Linked DNA regions of Homo sapiens: all the other regions are linked to region 3. Evidence: promoter capture Hi-C in human tissues and cell types (Jung and others, 2019). All regions are on one chromosome and are shown on one strand. The core of a region is centred on a gene start or on the middle of the fragment in contact, and the rest is flanking DNA. Distances in the headings are between cores, read along the strand shown. Region 1 has its middle 25 kb from the start of PRRC1. Region 2 has its middle 7.1 kb from the start of PRRC1. Region 3 holds the start of C5orf63 (chromosome 5 open reading frame 63).

Region 1 (3,727 bases), core at 844-3,343, 420 kb before region 3:
CCCTCTGTCACCCAGGCTGGAGTACAGTGGCATGATCTCAGCTCACTGCTACCTCTGCTTCCTGAGTTCAGGTGATTCTTGTGCTTCCTAGCCACCTGAGTAGCTGGGATTACAGGTGTGTGCCACCACATCTGGCTAATTTTGGTATTTTCTGTAGAGATGGGGTTTCGCCATGTTGGCCAGGCTGGTCCCGAACTCCTAAACTCAAGTGATCCTCCCACCTCAGCCTCCCAAAATGCTGGGATTACAGATGTGAGCCACCATGCTGGGCCCTACATGGTTTCTACATAAAAGCCTGATGTAATTATCATCTTTGCTCCTCTATAAGTAAGGTGGGTTTCTTTTCCCCTCTGGTTTCTTTTAAGCCATTATTTTTGTCTTTGCTTTTCTGTGGTTTAAATGTGATTTGCCTATGTATAGATTTTGGGGGGATATTTATCCTGCTTTGTGTTCTCTGAGCTTCCTGAATCTGTGATCTGGTGTCTCATTAATTTGGAGAAAATTCTCTGTCATTATTGCTTCAAATGTTGCTTCTGTTTCTTTCTCTTTCTTCTCCTTCTGGTATTCCCATTATATGTATTTATACCTTTGGCAATTGTCCCACAATTTTGGGGTATACTATTCTGTTTTTATTCATTCTTTTTTCTCTTTGCTTTTCAGTTTGAGATGTTTTTACTGATATATTTTTATTTTTTATTTTTTTATTTTATTATTATTATACTTTAAGTTTTAAGGTACATGTGCACAATGTGCAGGTTAGTGCTGATATATTTTTAATTTCACTGATTCTTTTCTCAGCCATGTCCAGTCTACTGATAAGTAATCGAAGGCATTCCTCCCTTCTATTGCAGGATTTTTAATTTGTATAATAGCATTTACTTTTGAGTCTTTCGTAGAGTTTTCATATTTGTATTTACACTACCCATCAGTAGTTGCATGTTGTCCACTTTTTCCATTAGAACCCTTAGCATATCACTCAGAATTCTTTCAGATTCCAAGTCTGATAATTCTAAAATTTCTGCCATATATGAGTCTAGTTGTGAGGCCTGCTCTGTCTCTTCACACTGTGGTTTTCACCTTTTTTCATGCCTTGTAATTTTTTGATGAAAGCTAAATATGAAGTACTGGGTAAAAAAAACAGATAAACATGTCCTTAGTGTGAGGTTTTATGGTTTATATATTTTATGTCTTTAGTGTGAGGTTTTATGTCTTTAGTTTTATGTCTTTAGTGTGAGGTTTTATGTCTTTAGTGTGAGGTTTTATATGACTGGGAGTTCGACTGTGTTTCCTCTTTGCAGTAGCTCTGTCAGAGGCTAAAGTTTCCTCTGGTGTCCCTGTTTTCGTCTCCTCTGTTGTCTTTGGATTTCCCTGGACACTTCTTAAATCATTCCTGAGGTTTGCAGTTCTTTCCACTGTAATTCCTGTTGTTGTACAGGAACCCTATTAAGGAGAAGTAAGGCGTAGAGTGAAGGAAATTGTTCATAGTCCTAAAATTTGCTTCAGTATTTTAGTGAGCCTGTGCCCCTGGACCATGACACAGTCATAAATTTGTTGTATTTCCTCTAGCACAAAATGACAGGTTAGGCTGAATCATGTCAAGAGCCTCAGCTAGTGCTATCTAAATTCTCTGATTGCAATAATTTAATCTCTTAGTTTGGTAATATCTTTGTGTCATTTTTGTAAACATCCACTAGGGGGAGAGAAAATGTGTCTCTCATCAGTAACAGGATAACAGGTAGACAGGAAAGGACATTCCCACAGCAACATTTGGATATGCTCAGTTTTTCCCCACAATGAATGCTCTACTTAAAGTAAAACAGCAATCTGAACATTTTGAAGATGTTCTTAAAACATCTTTATTGGAGATTTATTACTTAAGTAAAGTTGTCTTATTGCTTCTGGGAATTTTACCAAAGGCCATTAGAGGGAGCTCAAAGCTTTTAAAATAATATATATATACATATATTTTTCTTTCTCTGCTTTCAGCACTTGATTGTCATTGCTAGCACTTTATTCTTAAGGCCCTGAATTTTCCTCATTTTTTTTAAAGATCAATTGAAATGCAGGAGATTTACCCTAATGTGTCTACCTGAGAATAAAAAGAGAATAAATTGCTTTTAACGAATTACTTAAATAATATAAACATGTCATTGAAGTATCGCAGTATTTAGAGAACAGTCCGTTTTCATTATAACCATGTGAAGAATAAGAAATTACTTTAGAGATTCTCATAAATTAAAATTTTTTAAAAGGAATGAATTGCTTTCTAAAAAGACACAAAGAATATACATGATCTAATACAACAAAATCTATAAGCAACATCTTACTGGCATTTAGTAAAGGTTAAATCCTTACTCTATATAGGCAATTTTCCCCATGTAATTATATTTTAGTTTAAATTAAATTTTAGGTATACAAATTTTGATCCACAGGGATTTTTTGGTAATTCTGTTCTAATTATTTTTTAATTTCCATTATCTTCTTTGATTTATGACTTATTTAAAACTGTGTTTTAAACTTTCCAATTGTATGAGGATTTTATCTTTATTTTTTGATTTCTAATTTTGTTACATTGAGATACAAGAATGGGTCTACATTATGTTTGGTTTTTTTTTAAGGCTCAAATTTTGGGTGCAGGTAGGTGTGTGTGTGTGTGTGTGTGCGCATGTGTAAGAGAAAGAGAAGATTTTAGCTGTGACTTTTTTGTTATCTTGATGTTTCAGCTAAAGTCTCAGCTTCTCAATGTGCATGTTTGCTGGGCATTCTAAGATAATGTGAGACTGGGTTTACAAAACTTAAATCATCCTTCGCTTCAAATGCTGTATGAAACCAGGCTAGAGAATTGGTTATGGGATGATAAAGATGAAGAAAAGAAGTACAGTATTTCTTTAAAGAGAAAATTGGAGAATCATGATGTTTCTCGTCTCCATCTAGATGTGGCGCTAATGCTACTCTCATTTTAATCCCAGCCAGGGACATATATTGACAGAAACAATCAAAGAGCAAGACAGATGCTCCCTAGAATTTGAGGACACAGTAATTGGTATGGGGTTCATGAGTAAATATATTCTAAAAGTTAGAGCCAAAGTGATCTGCTTAGAAATGGACTGCACTTTCATAGTCTGTTAGGGCAAAAGTGAATGTACATTTCTCTCAAGATTTTATGGCTACTTGGGAGGGACATACTACCTAAAAGTATTACTTAGAAGAATAGGTAGCCACAACAGTAGGGTGAGCTGCTAGAATCTAGTAGCTAAGCTTAGGGTTTGTAAGCTGTATGCATGAGCAATACTGCGGGATCTTTCACAGTTTTTTACAAAACTGCCTTTAAAAGAAAGAGCACTGCGTGTGGAATACAAAGCAAAGCTTCATACCAGATTGTGACCCTGTGAGCCTTGAAAAATTGTTTTCTCCTTAATGCCCCTTTTATATCCTTCCTTCTCTTCCCATTGACCAAAAGCACATCCAGCAAGTGAGAAGGGGGTGTACGAAGAAAGAGGAAAGAAGCCAACCACGTCCTGCTTTCTCGTTGTAAGTTTTTGAACCCATGTGAGCTGAGCTGGGGAAGGAGAATCATCTAAAATTGGATGAGAATGTAGGGTTTATATTTGACTATGCTGTATTTTATCACATGAAAATGATTAGAAGAGCTATAAAACTTGTCAATATTTCATTCAGGAGCAAAGTCTTTAGAAGTTGAAAGATTAGTTAGTTTCTCCTTGCACTT
Region 2 (3,927 bases), core at 1,141-3,640, 440 kb before region 3:
AAATCATCCCTACCTTGGAAGAGGGCCTCCAGTTGCCATTACTCACTCCAACCAGCCAGCTCCTGCTGGAATCTGATGCTGTGGAATGCTTAAATTACCAACACTATAAAGGAAGAGACTTTGAGTGCGAGTTGAAGCTGTTGATTTATCAGAGTCTAGCAGGAGGAATATTGGGGTCAAAGGTGCTAAAATCAAAGAACTTTGAGAGAACGCTCAAACAACCATCAAGCTTTTCTAGGAATGCTGTTCTCATCCCACTGACAGAGTTGTTCTTATTGGAGGAAAACCCAATAGGGTTGTAGAGTGCATAAAGATCATCCTTGATCTTATATCTGAGTCTCCCATCAAAGGACCTGCACAGCCTTATGATCCCAGTTTTTACAATGAAACCTATGATTATGGTGGTTTTACAATGATGTTTGATGACCGCCCTGGATGCCCAGTGGGATTTCCAATGTGGGGAAGAGGTGGTTTTGACAGAATGCCTCCTGGTTGGAGTGGGCGTCCCATGCCTCCATCTAGAAGAGATATGAACCCTCATCGAGGACCACCTCCTCCTCTTACTGGACGAGGTGGCCGGGGTGGTAGCAGAGCTCGGAATCTTCCTCTTCCTCCACCACCACCACCTAGAGGGGAAGACCTAATGGCCTATGACAGAAGAGGGAGACCTGGAGACTGTTACGATGGCATGGTTGGTTTCAGTCCTGATGAAACTTGGAACTCTGCAATAGATACATGGAGCCCATCGGAATGGCAGATGGCTTATGAACCACAGGGTGGCTCCGGATATGATTATTCCTATGCAGGGATTGGTGGCTCATATGGTGATCTTGGTGGACCTATTACTACTGCACAAGTAACTATTCCCAAAGATTTGACTGGATCTATTATTGGCAAAGGTGGTCAGCGGATTAAACAAATCGGTCATGAGTTGGGAGCTTCAATCAAAATTGATGAGCCTTTAGAAGGATCCGAAGATCAGATCACTATCATTACAGGAACACAGGACCAGATACAGAATGCACAATATTTGCTGCAGAACAATGTGTAGCAGTATTCTGGAAAGTTTTTCTAAGACTAGTGAAGAACTGGAGGAGTCCTGCATCTTTTTTTTTTATTTGCTTCTGTTTAAAAAGCCAACATTCCTCTGCTTTGTAGGTGTTCTGCATTTGAAGTGTAGTGAAATCTTTGCTGTTCACCAGATGTAATGTTTTAGTTCCTTACAAATAGGGTTGTGGGGGAAGGGCGTGCAAAAACTAACATTGAAATTTTGAAACAGCAGCAGAGTGAGTGGATTTTATTTTTTGTTATTGTTGATGGTTTAAAAAAAATTCCCCCCATGTAATTATTGCGAACACCTTGCTTTGTGGTCACTGTAACATTTGGGGGGTGGGACAGGGAGGAAAAGTAACAATAGTCCATATGTCCCTGGCATCTGTTCAGAGCAGTGTGCAGAATATAATGCTCTTTTTAAAGAAACATTTTATGATTTTTAAAATAAATTTAGTGAACCTATTTTTTGTGGTCATTTTTTTTAAGACAGTCATTTTAAAATGGTGGCTGAATTTCTCCACCCCCAAACTAAACACTAAGTTTGATTTTCAGCTCCTCTGTTGGATATGTAAGTGCATCTCTTCTTGGACATAGGCAAAATAACTCGGCAAACTTAGTTCTGGTGATTTCTTGATGGTTTGAAAGCCTATTTCTGGGAAGAAATTCCAACATACATATTCATGCTTATAAAAAGCTGGGCATTTTTTGTTTGTTTTTGCAAATGCTTGCCCCTGCTTTTCAACAATTTTATATGTTAGTGGTTGTGAAGAACTAAAGTGGGGAGCAGTACTACAAATTGAGTAATGGTATGAGTATATACCAGAATTCTGATTGGCAGCAAGTTTTATTAATCAGAATAACACTTGGTTATGGAAGTGACTGATGCTGAAAAAAACTGATTATTTTTATTAGATAATTTCTCACCTATAAACTGTCAACTTGCTCTAATGTCTTATTAAACTTTATAAAATACATATATACTTGTTTTTCCATTGTATGCAAATTGAAAGAAAAAGATGTACCATTTCTCTGTTGTATGTTGGATTATGTAGGAAATGTTTGTGTACAATTCAAAAAAAGATGAAAAAAGTTCCTGTGGATGTTTTGCGTAGTATATTGGCATTTGTTATGATAGTTAAAATTCACTTGCAAATAAATAAAACACCCATGATGCTAGATTTGATATGTGACCAATTTGAACAAGGGTTGATTGACACCTGTAAAATTTATTGAAACATTCCTCTTACAAGGAAATACAGTAATCTTAAATTGTAAAAAAAGAAAGAAAAAGAAAAAAGAAGAGCAAACTCAATTATTTTTCTCAAATACATATTTATGAAAACGTCTATCACTCCTTCTTTCTCATATGGTAAAATCTTAAAAACTCAATTTACTCTTGCTTTCTAGACTCTTCTCCTTTTCCTACATCCTGCTCCATATTTCCCAGGCACCCACTGCAAGAATCTGCCCTACCGAAGCCTGAAGCCATGCACCTTTGCCCCTATCAATCCCTTTACCTGAGCATGTTTTTCCCTTTCCACCTTCTACTAATAGGTATTCTTCACTTTTCAAGGACTTGCTCAAAGTTTTCTTCTACCATAAAATCTTTTTACATTGTAGTATTGTTGGCTGTACATGCTTATATTCTCTATTCATTTATGAGCTCCTTGATGGTAGTAACTTTGGGTTTAGAATACCACTACATTCAAATTTTTACGTGAGTGAGTACTACGAACATGTTTTGAATTTAGTTGAATTTTCTATTAAGATTCATGTGCAGCACACACATAGCAAAACGTCCTCATAATCATCTTTTTTCTCCTCCAAATATGAGTTCACTAAAAATATTCTTGTAGGAGACAGAACAAATGTTTCTTTTGAAAAATTTGAAATTTTCCTTTGAATAAGAAACCATGCCACTAAAATTAGTTCTCTGGCCAAGGAATCCCTGTTAATATGCAATAACATATTGCAGAGTATTCTAATTGTTTTCTAGAATTTTGTGTTTTTACAAAGTTAAAAGTTTGCATAACTTCAAGCAATAGCTCTCAGTGCATGATACCTCCTAAATATTTATATCTGTAGTAGTGTTTCTCAAGACTTTTAATTCACAGAACATTCCACTTTTCCCTTTTAATTTTTATGATAGTTTAGAAAAGGAAACATAACACAATTGTTCCTACAAGCACCTTCATTTTCAAGCAATATTTAAAGCTCAGGGCCATGTGCTTTTTCTTTTGTCAATTCAGCATTTCTTTAATGCTTAGAAGTGAAATTTTGACAAGAGAGCCTGTGAGGTGAATGAGTCCAATTTATGTAACTCCCCAATCAAACCAGCTGCATGGGAACAGCCATTTGGTGTCCTTCTGCTTCCTATCTCATAGAACTAACTGCTTCTAAGCAGGTCAGCAGGGTTAGGTGGAAAATACACTAGATTAGGAATCTAGCACAGCTTCTGCCACTAATTAAGAAAGCAACTCTTGTCTGAGGGTTACCTTCTCTGAGCTTTAATTTCCTCCCCTGATGAGTGAGGGATAGTTAAATGATTTCTGTAGTGAGCATTCATTATGGTTAGCTTCCTAACTAGACAAAAGAAAATAAGACATTCTCCCTTATCAACATAGATGAAAAGGCTAACTCTGGGCACACTGCCTCGGAGTTAGCCCTGCAAACAAAAAAAAAAAAAAAAAAAAAAAAAGAAAAAAGAAAAAAAATTCTAGGTGAAATGTTAGAAAATTGAATTGGGTGATAGTGATGATGATGATTGATGATATACATTGTGACTAAGTAATGTTGTTTTCCTCCCAGGAATAGAAGAGTGGTCCTACGTCAGAAAAATTTATTGATGATTTACCAAATTTAAAAAGAAAAGGA
Region 3 (3,903 bases), core at 556-3,055:
ATCACTTACAAACCCAAGAAATTCTTACTGATTAAACTCAAATTCTGAAAATTTATGAACTTTTGGCTCCTTAGAGAAATTTACTCATAACCAGTGCTAAAAGCCTTCATTGTTGGCCTTGGTTGAATCCATTCTTTTCCTTCAGTGGGTGAAATCAGGTTTCATAAGTCCAAGTGATTTTATAAACCTTTGTTTTCCAACAATAAATAAGATTTGGAAGCTGATCTGGAGTTACATTTCTAGTAAGCTTTTCTGTCACTCCACAATATCTAAGATACTCATGCCCCACCAAGGTGTTTATAACTAGATCCCAGATTCCTTCTTTAAAGGTATCCTATCAGCAACTGTTAGGTGGACTGTGCTTTATCAATTGACTTTTTTTTTTCCAGAAAAACTAAGTCTTATCAGAGTGCATCAACTCAAAAATAACTATAGGTAGTCTGTTGACAGTCACAAAATTCCCTCTTTAGCCTATCAGAAAATGCTGAAGTGACAAAGAACTTGTAAATTCTACTATCTTAATGTGGCCTCTAGCGACATCACATAATCAGTGTGGTTTGTTTAAAGAATTCATTCCTGACCTTGGTTTGCTTTGTATCTTTTTTAAAACCACTGAGTACACATTGAATTTATAGTGGTAAGCTTAAGGCGTCAGACAGCATGAGATGGAATTCCAAATCTACCGTTTTGTAACTGTGAGAACTTGAGCAAGTTATTAAACCTCCATTACTTCATCTGTAAAATGGTACTAGTAATACTTAATTGCATTGTTCTCAGGATTAAACAGACTAATGAGTATAAAGCTTTTGGTGAGCAATCAATAAATGTTAGCTTTGAGTATTACTATAATTATTATCCATCATTTTCTCATTATTTACTGTACCACCATTCAAGCCACCACACCTAGAACCTGGAATGCTCAGTAGCTTCCTCACCTCCCTGCTTGTTCTACTCTTGCCTATCCTAAACCCTTCCCATCTACTTCCCAAAGCTAAGGGGTCCTTTCAGAAGGGAAAAGCAATCAGTTCAATCCCCTTCCCACATAAAACAGAAATGCCCCCCGGCTACCCTTAGCACAAACCTGAAAGGCCCTGCATGGCCAGACTCTCGCTTACCCTCTCTAGCCTGTTTCCACCTCTCTTCCCCATTCCCTCTAAGTCTCAGCCATACTCGTCAGTCTTCCGCATACAACCCATACTGCACATCCTCCACCAGACCCTTCCCCCAGCCTGCAGAGCTCTGTCCCCAACCCACGCCCTTCAGATCCCAGCCCCAAAGCTACCTCTTCAACGAGATCCCACTCAGGTCTTTTCTCATATTCCTTCCCTGCAAAGCACTTAGCTGAATAAACCCATGGCCTATTTAATAAGGGATAATTTCCTAATATCTGCTTTCTCACACGATTTTCAGTTTGCGGGAGGGTACGGCTGCCAGTTTTGCTCATCGCATTCCCCATAACCTAGTTCAGCCAAGACCTAGTGGAGGAGGCAGTAAATATTAAATTAACGAAAGAATGGATGCATGCAGAGCGGTTAAAATGGCTCGGACTCCGCAGCCTCAAAAAGTTGGCTCCCGCACCTGAGGCCTCTTATTAAATGGTTCCCAAACATGCGGGGTCACTTTTCCGTATTTTGTTTTTTAGTTTGGCCTTGGTTTGTGTGTCACTCTTCACGAGTAAAGGTTCAGGCGCGGCCACCCTTGAGAGCGTAGACGGGACACCACCTGAGATAGAACGCCCAGCGGCAGTGCTGCCGGCGTGGGGCGGAAGTGCGGGGCCTGGGGCCGGCGCCTGGTGGGTGCGGGCGGAAGTGCCCGGCGCAGGGCGGAAGCAGAGGCGTTGGCGGCGTGAGGCTCAGGTGGGTTCCCTTAGTCCCGCGCCGAGGGTGAGCGCTCGCGGGTCTCCGCCTCTGAGCTGACGCGCAGGCTGGCGGGGGTTCGCTGTGCCGCGTGCTGCCCATTTGGATAGTCGTTATACGGAATTTAATTAAACCGGGAGCCATAAATCCATGAACTACTTGGGGGAGATTATAAACGCGTGTGTGTGTGTCTGTGATAGCGCTCTGGGAAGTAAATAAATGACGGGCGGGAAAAGGAAGCTTTTTTTTTTTTTAAGAGAAAGCAGAAAACATCTCGAGAAAGCAGAAAACATCTCAACTTCATACTCCTCCAGTGATTCGCCGATGCCCCGTCCCGGGTTTAATTGAATTCTATGAAGTGGTAGTGTAATCACACTTGGGAGCCCGCTGAGCTGACTGCCTTTTTAAATAAATATTTTTGAGCAGCCATGTTGACCTTTAATTGGGGTGAAAAGGTTGAAAGGTGCAGCAGGGAACATTGTGAGTGCCGGGGCTCTCTGGATGAGCTGTCTGGATCTCCTCTCAGCCTTATTGGGCAAAAGCAGCCCTCTGGGTACTGAACAATGAGAGAATAAATCAGAAACTGTACATTCTCAACAGATATTCACTTCTGACAAATAGCAGCTCATACAGTTTTTTAATAAGTCCAAGGGTAGAAAAGTCCCCACTAAAATGTCATTGTGAGTTAGGCTTGTGACTGTTTCTAAGGCTGTCTTTCACAGGGAATGTTTTGCTTGGGTGATCTTTATTCTTGTTTATTAATAAATAGTGTATATGTGGTACTTTATATTTTAGTGCCCTTAAAAAAAAAATCCATAGTATGGCCTTAGCTTGACCCCAAGATTCTCAATTCCTCAAGGACAGAGATGGTGTCTAAGATCTGTTATATCCCAATACTTTCTAGCGCATTTCCCAGAATTAGTATACATTGTCTTGTTTAAGCAGCCACTAGAGCTATGCCTTGGTGCACAATGCTGAACAAGTTGAGGTGTCTATTAGAGGTCGCAGTCTTCTCATTTGGTCATATTCTGAGGACTAGCTTATAAAAATGCATGTGAAGCTCTCTACCAATATTTGGAGCTGTATACATTGGGGTGCATTATAGGTAATTAGAAAGATTTAAAACACGGGGAAAAAAGATACACCCTGGAAATATTGGATAATTATGATAATACTGGGGCAAAGCAGAACTAATCATGGTTCTGTGTGAAATATCGTAGCCCAATAACCTGCGTCCTGCTCTGCTGAGGAATTGCCTGGAACCAGAAAGACCCTGTTGTGAAAATTAAGATTGGTGGGGCTGGTGCTTTAAACAGGCAGGATCCTCAGATTGTCTTTCTTCCCTCCTGCTCTGGCAGCAGTAGCCACATGCCAAGGAAGGATCAATATTTTTTTGTCTCCTTCATCAGAGGAATATGTGGCTGTGTGGTTTTATTTAGATGGACTGTTGGCAGGTAAGTAATAGAAATGAGGATTTTTCCAACTTGGGAGTTGATTGGACTGTGTTTCTATTTTGTTCCAGATGCCTGGCTCTAAAGTACTCAGAGGCACTATGAGAAATCCCTTTAAAATAGGTTATTTTTTATTATTAAAGTTTTTTTATTTCATAACTTGTATATACTCTAGCTGGCTGATGTATTCAGTTACTCTAATGCTAGGCCTTGGGGTTTCAAACATAGCAGGACCTTGAGGTGATCTGGTACAAGTAGCGAGGTGTTTTTATGTTCCTTATTTAAATCTAATTTTTGCTACTGCTTTATTCAAGGACTGTACATCAGAGGAAGCCAAAAGCCAGCTGGAATACTTCCTGAATACAGTTTTAATCTTGTTTGCAATTATTTCGAAGGGGAGAAATCATCTGGATCAGGTATGTGTAGCTACACAGCAGGGACTAGGTGAGCTTCCTCTATCCTTCCCCTAGTATTGCATAACAAATTCTAGGGACAAAATCATTTGGGGAAGAATATGCAAATGAAAAGTTTTGGCTAAGTTTATCTTAGACATGATTCCACATCCCTAACTTCCCATCCCAGTACAGCCACGGAGA

Evidence for each region. The method cuts DNA at HindIII sites, captures the fragments that hold promoters and counts their contacts. A contact is called where the count stands out against the background at its distance.
Region 1: a contact is called between a fragment that was not itself captured here and the fragment with the promoter of C5orf63 in region 3, in 1 of the 25 tissues and cell types used here (H1 embryonic stem cells).
Region 2: a contact is called between a fragment that was not itself captured here and the fragment with the promoter of C5orf63 in region 3, in 1 of the 25 tissues and cell types used here (mesenchymal stem cells).

The regions. Positions count from the first base shown.
Region 1 is chr5:127,491,121-127,494,847 of GRCh38, reverse strand. No RefSeq gene overlaps it. Among named protein-coding and RNA genes, the nearest start is that of PRRC1, 25 kb to the left of the region's middle. The HindIII fragment of the contact is 4,370 bases long and covers 1-3,727 here.
Region 2 is chr5:127,508,607-127,512,533 of GRCh38, reverse strand. It overlaps the pseudogene HNRNPKP1. Among named protein-coding and RNA genes, the nearest start is that of PRRC1, 7.1 kb to the left of the region's middle. The HindIII fragment of the contact is 6,089 bases long and covers 1-3,927 here.
Region 3 is chr5:127,071,404-127,075,306 of GRCh38, reverse strand. It overlaps C5orf63 (chromosome 5 open reading frame 63), which reads left to right and starts at 1,805. Exons shown (of 5, transcript NM_001164478.2): 1 at 1,805-1,856; 2 at 3,622-3,723. RefSeq lists a silencer at 1,729-1,948. The HindIII fragment of the contact is 2,852 bases long and covers 446-3,297 here.